Regions from separate parts of the Homo sapiens genome. Here region 1 is linked to region 2. Evidence: promoter capture Hi-C in human tissues and cell types (Jung and others, 2019). All regions are on one chromosome and are shown on one strand. Each heading gives the region's core, a stretch centred on a gene start or on the middle of the fragment in contact. The rest is flanking DNA. Distances are from core to core; before and after follow the strand shown. Region 1 has its middle 35 kb from the start of IL1R1. Region 2 holds the start of IL1RL2 (interleukin 1 receptor like 2).

Region 1 (4,967 bases), core at 1,232-3,731, 79 kb after region 2:
GTTTGCAGCTTTCTCCTTTGAGACTGCCGAAGTCTAATAAAAACCAGCTTGTTAGCAGGCACTGTTGACGAGCACATGGAGAGGCATTCTTTCAAACATTCCTGGTAGGGGTGTTAATTGGTATGACCTGGTGGGGTGGGGGGGTGGGTAATTCTGAAATATATATCAAAATCACAAGTGTACACAGCCTCTGACCCCACAATTCTGCTTCCAGGAATTTAACCAACAACTTGGAAACACTTCTGCAAAATTACGAGGGCAGGCTGCCACTGGTCGCAACATTGCCTGAAATAACAAAACATTGCAAACAATCCAACTGTCCATTAAGAGGCAGAAAATGCACCGCCTTTGATACAGCTATGGATCAAGGTATAGAATGGTGCACACTATGAGTGCAAAAGAGGTGGAAGAAAAAACTAGAAACTATTAACAAGACTCGCCTATTGGTGAGGAAGAGGGAAAGAAGCGTCTGCAGAAAGGGAAGAGAAAAAGACTTTCACCTTTTAAATTGTGTTACCACTCCAAAAGCAAATAAACCATGTGTCATTCACTCAAAAAAATTTAAAGAGTTTCAAAATCATATGGAAAAGTTTAACCAAAAAAAGTAAAATTCCATTTTAAATTATAGTCTTTTCCCTCATGTTATAACTGGAAACACTAAACAAAGAAAAGGGAGATAAGTCGCCCAGGAGAAACGAAGCCGCCCTTGGCCCCCAAGCTAGCACTCACCATACTCCATCTCATTCGCTGGAGTTCCTTGGTGCAGATTTGGGGGGTCAATAGAGAGGAAATATAAGGAAATATCTCTCAATATTTTAAACGCCCATCGAGTCTAGGTTGGTGTGATAAATTGGATGGTCCTGCCAGGGAGGATCTGGTCTGAAAAATCAAATCCATTTCACATTGGCCCATGTGGGTTCAGAGAAGCTGAGGCTGAGCCCTGCCTGATCCCCAAGTTGAGGGGTTGTTGTGGCTGAGTTTTCCAGGTTCAACACCTCCAAATGCAGTAGAACTGGACTCTTGGCACCTTTGGATGGAAGAACCAAATACATCAGCACTCAGTTGTCCAGGCCAGTGTGGCACATGGACTCAGAAGGCAGACAGACTTGGTGCAGGCTGATGGATCTCTCCTCACTAGCCTGCAGCTTTGGGAAACTTACTGAACTTCTCAGGGTCTCAGCTTGTCTGGACCTAGAGTTGGAATAATGTTTCAAGGTTGCGAGAAAGATTCAAGATATTATACTTAAAGAACCCAGAAGAGTGCATGTTCCTTTAGTAGGTGACTCAATAAATGGTAGTCATATACCCAAATAAACAGCACAAACATCACCAGTGGCCTAAAACCATGAGACATTGTCTCCAAAGTTCAGTCCGACCTACCCTCACTGACCCACAGGCTCCAGAGTGAGCCTGTCTGCGTCATAATTCCAGCTCTGCAATAACTACTGGTATAACCCTAGCAAATCACTCTCTGTGCTTCCGTTTCTTAATCTGCAAAATAAAATAATAGTACTGATTATTTTATATGAGCGGTACCTAAAACCAGGTCTCCTACCTAGCAAGTGCTGTATTACATATTAGCTTTTATTATTATTATTATTATTATTATTATTATTATTATTATTATTCAGTACCAAGTTCAAACCATTACTAAATGTCAGTTTGGTCCTGATTTTTGCAGCCCAGCACTGAGCTGGGAGTCAGAGTGAAAATCGATGCCTCCTTAAAGTTTTTGATATTCATGCCAAATCCATGACACTTGCACCTATAAAGACAGGGTTCTCCATTTTCCTGGTCCTATCCTTGGCTTGCATTCATTTGTTTAATATCCTTTCAGAGCTTTAAATATTTACTCAATAGAAACTGAGACTCACCCAAACTAAACGAAATAAATAACCAGTTGCCCCTAGAAAAGCTCCATTTAGGTTTTTTTTTAATCTTCTGGGGTGCCTTTTTGGAATATTCTTTTCTCCACAGAACTGGGTAAATATTTTTCTACCTCCCTTACATTGACTCATTTGAGAAACATTGATTGATCCGCCCTCTGGGTGTCAGACCCCAAAGCAGGCCCTGGAGAGAGGTATACACATGAAACCGGACCCCGTCTTTGAGGAGCTCTCAGTCCACTGGGGAGCTGAGCAAAGCCCATGGATGATGAGAATGCAATAGGAGGAGGATGGCTGGTTTTCCTGTACAAGAATGGAATAAATAAGCAACAAAATGGAAATCTTTTTAATCTAAAATGTATCCATGCACTGCTGTAACACACTAAACACTGCTACTGAATCTAAGAACCAAGAAGCATAGAAATATGTTATACACACCCCCCCCCACACACACACACATACATACACACACACACACACTTCCCAAGTTTAGAATTAGAAGACGACAAAATTTCAGCATGCAGCTCTCCAGAAACTATATATTTTAGAAGGTTAGATTTATCACTAAACTTTAGAGTAACAACAATAATAATAATACCATTTTGCATTTTTGCTTTTCCTCTATTCAAAAAGCTTGCCTCTATCTTGCCTCTTTATATTCCCAGTACAATCTTGTGAGGTGGCTAGCACAGGCCTTCTGTCTAAATTTTATAGCTAAAAAGGAGACAAAATCACAAAGACTGAGGTTTACCCCAGGTTACTCAATCGGTAAAAATTCAGAGCAAAAGCATCCAGTTCTCTCGCTCTCTCAGCAGACTTTCTGAGAGACATCAAAAGAGGTCAAAGTCCTCAGAAATTAGGTTGGCAGAAGTTACTGTAAGAGGTGACTGCTTTGGCAATGAGTAACCAAAAAAGACGAGAGGCTGAACCCAAAGGGGCAGAACTGGAAACCAGCAGATTTTGCAAAGGGTTTCCTTAAGGTAAATTAAGACAACAAAATATACCTTTGCCTATTATCAGAGTAGCACACTTTTCTTTTATTTATTGTGATACTTTAAGTTCTAGGGTACATGTGCACAACATGCAGGTTTGTTACATATGTATACATGTGCCATGTTGGTGTGCTGCACCTGTTAACTTGTCATTTACATTAGGTATGTCTCCTAATGTTATCCCTCCCCCCTCCTCCCACCCCACAACAGGCCCCGGTGTGTGATGTTCCCCACCCTGTGTCCAAGTGTTCTCATTGTTCAATTCCCACCTACGAGTGAGAATATGCGGCGTTTGGTTTTCTGTCCTTGTGATAGTTTGCTCAGGATGATGGTTTCCAGCTTCATCCATGTCCCTACAAAGGACATGAACTCATCCTTTTTCATGGCTGCATAGTATTCCATGGTGTATATGTGCCACATTTTCTTAATCCAGTCTATCACTGATGGACATTTGGGTTGGTTCCAAGTCTTTGCTATTGTGAATAGTGCCACAATAAACATACGTGTGCATGCAGAGTAGCACACTTTTCAAAAAATTATAAAACCCAATGCTGATGAGAGAGTTGGAAAATGTTCATACAGTGCTGGTGGGCACATAAATTAATTAAACTTTCCTAGGATTAATTTAGCAGCAGGGATCTAGAGTTTTTAAAATGCCCATGCCCTTTGACCCCTACCATTCTACCTCTGGGGATTTATCTCAAGGAAAACTCGTTGAGATAACCTTTGCATCAAGGAGATGCAAAGGTTTAGCTACAAGGGTGTTAGTTGTAGTACTGTTAATAAGAGAAGAACATAGTTGTAGTACTGTTAATAAGAGAAAAACAATCAACTACCTGCCAACAGGATTTAATAAACTATCTATGCAATGAAATGGAAAAGCTTTTGTAAAAGAAAACTCATTCTCATAACAAGATGCTCCATCGCTGTGAGGTAAAAGCAGATAACCGAAAAGCATGTAGAGTACAAATATATTTCTTCAAAATGTAAATGTACTCAGAGACAAATACACCTACCAAAATGTTAACAGTGTTTACCTCACAGTGGTGTGTTTTTACTTCTCGTCTTTTACTATTATCTCTATGTATTTTTTAAAATTTTATTCTTGACAATGAGCTTGTGCTGTTTGTGTAAATGTTCCAAGGACGTATTTTAGAAGTATACCCTCGCTATTCTTTGACCGTTCCTGCCAAGTTTTCCTCCTAAGTAAACTAACAGTCTTGTGCTCAACGGGGTTTGTCAGTTCAATGATTAACAATAGCATGTAGTGTTAGGAAAGGCCATAAGAATCTTTTTAAACTCATCACTACCATTAGGCAGATCAAATTCATCTCAAGAAGTTTTCTTGGCTCTTTCTGGACAACTTTGTCTTCTTCCTTTTCCTAACAGATCAACACATTTATAGTAAACACCAATCTCTGGCATCAAATGCACACACACACAGACACACACACACAGAGACACACACGTCACTGTTCTCCAGCTGTCTCATGGGTGAATGCCATGACTCACCAAACCAGTTGGTCCTTAGCTGTATTTTTTGAAGCATCCTTCCCCACCATCCACTCCTCACACCCTCACCAACACAGCGAAAAATTCACATTTTGCATGAGCAATAAGGAGTTATAAATTGAATTGAATGATAAGCTTCATTAGGTTTTCCTTTTTGTTTTGTTATTTTCTTTCCTTAATCTTTCAGGTTCAGTCCCATTTTCTCATTCTTATGCACAACAACACTATCAGTAGGAATTATGAGGATCAAGGATAAATGGAGATCAAGGATAAATTATGGAGATCAAGGATAAAAATGCAAGGCAATGTTTATAATCCCCTCTGAGAGTGCATGGTCTTCTCTATAGCTATAGGTGCAACATTGGCAAAGCTTCTGAAGGGGGGAGAAAAATATGATCAGGCTTTTAAGATTACCTTTGAGGTCCTTATTGAAGAAAGCGTGTACAAGTTTTGCCAATACAATGCATTATACCTTTAAATGAAACCAATAGAGGCTGCCATTAATAACATAGCACATTCAGGCCAGGCGTGGTGGCTCATGCCTGTAATCCCAGCACTTTGGGAGGCCCAGGCAGGT
Region 2 (5,000 bases), core at 400-2,899:
CATCCCAAAACGATTGTTTAAGAAAAAAAATTTGGTTCACTTTTAAAGTTCATTTCTACCAAATTTCCTTTTTTTTTTTTTTTTGAGACGGAGTCTCTCTCTGTCGCCCAGGCTGGAGTGCAGAGGCTCAATCTCGGCTCACTGCAAGCTCCGCCTCCCGAGTTCACGCCATTCTCCTGCCTCAGCCTCTTGAGTAGCTGGGACTACAGGCGCCCGCCACCGCGCCCGGCTAATTTTTTTAATGTATTTTTAGTAGAGACGGGGTTTCACCGTGTTAGCCAGGATGGTCTAGATCTCCTGACCTCGTGATCCGCCCGCCTTGGCCTCCCAAAGTACTGGGATTACAGGCATGAGCCACTGCGCCCGGCCATACCAAATTTCTTAGAAGAAATTTGTTCTATTGACGGTTTCCTTGCTTTCACCTTGTGTCATAAAATAACGCTTTATCTTATAAAATAGCCTGTAGTAATTCCATTTGAGCATTGTTACTCAAGTCTTCACTTGGAATTTGCCTAACTCCTTCCCCTCCCCGAAGTCACCTCCAAGCTCAAAGGCGACATTCAGGGCTGAGCATCCGAGCACGTGGAGCTGGTTCTCTGTTTCCTCTTCCGCGGAACTCCGCCTGGCGGTCTGGGGAGGGGAAGGAGCCGCGCTCGGGCTGACGCGATCCCCGGGGGCTCCCAATGACAGGCCAGGAGCCTGTGGACTCGGGCAGCCTCTGGGAACGGAGGACACACGGAACGTACCTGCTGTGACAGACAGTGGAAGGGCGATGGACAACCCGCAGAGCAGCAAGGACCACATCCCCAAACCGGGCTGCAAGGAAGGGAGAAGAGGGTGGGAGGGGAGGACGCAGTAGGGCGGGCCCGAGGCGCCGGCGTGGGCGACCTCGGAATCTCAAAGACAACCGCCCAGGCCGCTGACCTTCCCTTTTTCCTGGGGAGCCCTCCGACTTTGGCCCCACGTTTCCCCAAAGACTGCCCTTCCCCTGTCTCCTTCGTCTGGGCGCCCGACCAGGATCCAGGGCAGGGAGCTCGCCCCGCCGCAGAGGAGGATGGGCGAGGAGTAGGCGGCGGCGGCGGTGGGGACCGCGTGGGAGCTGCTTCTGCCACCTGACAGCGAAGCAGGCTGGTGTCCAGAGCCCCCGTGAGGGCCAGGGCGCCCCCCAGCGCAGCCTGCGGCCTGGGTTCCAGACGTGGGACCCCAACCCCGCTCGCGGCGCACGGAGCCTCCCCTGCGCGCCTGTGTCCTCGGGATCCACCCGAGCCTGGCGGTCTAAACAGAAACCCCAAACACCCGCTCACTGGGGAGCAGCCAGGGCAGGCCTACCTGGCAAGGGCCAGCGGGAAAGGAGAAAGGAAGGCAGGGAGCCGCTGGAGCTGAAAATAGCCGCGAGCTCCACTCCTCGACCCAGAGACGGAGTCGGCTCCCCCATGGTCACCTAGCCGGTCGGGGGCCGGCCTGGGGGGCCTGATCCCTGGCCTGCGGTGGCACACATTGTTGCCACGTCTTTTCCTGCACACCTCTCCTACTGTCAGGGCCCCACCCATGCCTGGCTCAGCCAGACTCCCGGCCCGGTGTCTACCTGCCTGCAGGATTGAAGCGCGCAGGACCTCGTGGAGAGTGGAAAATATGACAGGGACACGAGCCCTGTCATGCCACTTCCATGCCTAGGTATTTCCCCGCCACCGTGGGCGGGGCAGACCTGCCTTCCCCAGTGGAGCGTAGGAAGGAATGTGACATCACACTAGGAAGTGGCTTGAAAGTCTTTGAGCCTGATTTTCTGGCATCTAAGTCCTTCATCACCAGGAGTGTCTGCTTAAGTCTATTCCAAGTTGAACGTCTAAATGAATTATTCATTCCTTTCCAAATCCTATTTGAGCAGTTACTGCATGCTCTGCATTGGCCTATGTGGAATGACCCCAAAGTGGAAGCCATCCCAAATGGCTTCTAAGGAGAATTATGAATCTGCCTGAGTCGTGCTCATTAACTTCTGTAAGGCAGGAATCCCATGGTGTTCAAGTACTTCAGAGCCTGAAGACTGTTCCTGTCTAAAACTTCCCGATAAGGTGATGTCAACAGGGACCTGTTGCCCTAGCCATCAGGAGACACCCCAGAGTCATCCCACAGGGCACTGAGTTGTAGGAAAAGGTTCAAAATGTAATCTCCATTCAATAGATTACTGGTCAAGCTCTTCCCAACGGTCTTTGAAAGATCAGAGACAGTGAGACAAAAGCAACCATAGGAGCAGAGATGCAATAATTGTGCTAATAGCAAAGCTTCCTGTGATAGGCTGAAGGTCAGTGGTTTGTAGATTTCTACACTCTTAAAAAGTATTGAGGATTCCAAAGTGCTTTTGTCTATGTAGGTTATGCCTGTCAATATTACTACATTAGAAGTTAAAGGGAGAATTTTTAAACGTTTACTTTCTTATTTAAGTGACAATAAACCCATTACATGTTAACGCAAATATCATACAATTTATGAAAAATAACTCTACTTTCTAAAACAGGCTTATTGAGAAAAGCGGCATTGTTCTACATAGATGCAGATCTCTTTGATGTCTGGCTTACTAGAAGATGACTGGATTCTCATACTTGCTTCTGCAATCAGTGTCATGATATAATATGTCATATAGCTTCTGAAAAGGTCCACCATACACTAATGAGAGAATGAGAATAAAAAAGGAATATAAGGTCTTAATATTACGATGAACATAGTTTTGATTTCACAGATCTTTTTGAAGGGTCTCTCAGGGACCCATAGGGCTCCCACTCTTTGAGGACCTCTTTCTTAAGCTATAAATAGAGATTATTATTTATTTCCCCTACTATCAGCAGTAAACGAGGTTCCTCTGTATATGTATATTCTTCAGCGTTTATGTCCTCATCCAAAACAAAACAAAAGTGTTACTATTTTTATAAAAGTCATATGATTTGCATTCAGAATTATTTCTATGAGCAGTGTTGAAAGGTATTTCTAAATCTTTATGCTATCTTTTTTCATTTTCACTTTATGAATAGATGCATTTGTGTCCTATCTTATTTCTTAGCCTGAGGACTAGTATATATGCCAAGTTTAATGGGTATTGTTGCCCCAAAATGTATGAAGTTAAGACAGGCCATCCCAGTCCCCTGCAGTGCCTCTCACTGGACACTTCTGACATTGCACTTTGCTACTAATTCTGAGAATCTGAAATTTAACTTCCTGGGATGGTCTCTATGCCAAATGTGTTTCCTGATACGTGGAAAATGAACACTTGGCTTTGAAGGCAGAACTGATTCCGGGTATTGTAAACTTAGCAATTAAAAATAACAGGAAACCATAATATTTACTGCAGGTTCTCAATTACCTTGAAAAAAAAAAACTTAAATGTATTCATCTCCTTCGAACATTTAAGTTTTTCCAAATTTATATTTTGCTCTTATAAACGGTGCTGCTGCAAAGATTCTGGTAATGTCCTTTTGTGCGAGTATTTCAGAGGCCATTTAGTGAACGGAATTGCAGAATCATTGGGTAGGTACATCCTCAATTGTATTAGAAAAGCCCTAATTTTTTTCCATAGCTATGTCCTTTAGAGGAAAAGAATTTCATTGCTTCATGTTCTTACCAATATTTGGTAATGTCAGACTTTTAAATTTTGCCAGTTTTGCTGCTCTGATGTAAAAGCTATCCTGTGATTTTATTTTATATACATTTAGATTGAGAGGTTATGCCCAGTTTTCAGAGGTGGCAGTTGTAAAGCCTCCATAACAGGGTGTATAATATGTAATAGATGCTTATCACCATCCCCCTACCAACCCCTCCTTGTCTAATTCTCTCCCACTTGCAGATATTTTTTCAATGGGAATATTCTTAATGTTTTCTAGCATTAGTCAGTGGCCATAGGAAATAATTTTCAGTTGGTTTTTTTTTTTATGAAGTAAATCAACTTCCTCTAGAGATTCATCACTTCATTCTGAGAGCAGGCAAAAAGCAACAAATCTGTGTGTGATGAAAGCATTACAGAATTCTGCTTGGTTGAATTTTACCTTCAGTCTATTTGACCCTCAGACTAGGATATGACGGCTATTCAGAAGGGTAGGAGGGCAACAATTTGGATTAAAGATTTCATATACAAATTTATATTTTACATGATGCATACTACCTTTTATTTGTTCTAACTAAATATCTGATTATTTCCCATTGGCCATATCCCACAGATAATGTTTCCCAATGAGAATGAAACAGAAATATATTCACACGCAACAATTAAACTTTCCAAAACCCAGTATTAGGCTGGGGTGGGTGTTTGGGGCTCCACCAAGATCTTTATACCTTTAAGGCCCTTAAGTTCTCATATTTCCCCTCTATGAGGCTTGGGAATATATAGCAGCATTTCTGTAGCAGACTGCTATTGTTGGGATGAAATGGACTTCTAGAAATGGAAGAAGCAGCCAGGGAGACTGGAAGGAGGTCCTTAAAGCACTTGGTTTCCTGCAGTCCTGGGCTTAATCACTCACTCCCTCGAGCTCCATTCATTAGTTCGCTCAGTCCCTCATCAAATATTTATACAGTTCCCACTGTGTTCCAGGTGATATTCTGAGTGCCAGAAATACAGCTGTACAGAAGACAGACCCTCTTAGAGTTTACAGTCATTCTAGTGTCAAGTAAATAAGAAAATTTTGAAGGATGATTTCAGGCTGGTGAGAACCCTGAAAGCAATTATGATGAAGTGATGGAGAGGGTGTTGGGGAAGTCCTCCCTTCAGAAGGGACTATGGTGCAGCAGAGGCCCTTGTCAAGGCAAGGAGTCCAGCATGTGGAGGTCTGCGAGAAGGGCTTTCCCCAAAGTAGGAAACAGCTAGTGCAAAATCACAAAGGAGGAAACAGTTTGTAAATTCCAAAATAAAATAACACAGACGAAGCCAATAGCCTCAGCTGCCTCAGCCTCCTTAGTAGCTGGGATTACAGGCGTGCACCACCACGCCCAGGTAATTTTTGTTTTTTGCTTTTTGTGTG

What was found. Contacts are between HindIII fragments. The study calls those that stand out against the background at their distance.
Region 1: a fragment that was not itself captured here is called in contact with the fragment with the promoter of IL1RL2 in region 2 in 6 of the 25 tissues and cell types used here (H1 embryonic stem cells, IMR-90 fibroblasts, aorta and 3 more).

What each region holds. Positions count from the first base shown.
Region 1 is chr2:102,105,607-102,110,573 of GRCh38, reverse strand. It overlaps a transcript of IL1R1 not described here. Among named protein-coding and RNA genes, the nearest start is that of IL1R1, 35 kb to the left of the region's middle. The HindIII fragment of the contact is 6,577 bases long and covers 1-4,967 here.
Region 2 is chr2:102,183,672-102,188,671 of GRCh38, reverse strand. It overlaps IL1RL2 (interleukin 1 receptor like 2), which reads right to left and starts at 1,649. Exons shown (of 12, transcript NM_003854.4): 1 at 1,586-1,649; 2 at 747-816. The coding sequence starts at 804. RefSeq lists an enhancer at 1,464-1,993. The HindIII fragment of the contact is 7,879 bases long and covers 1-4,411 here.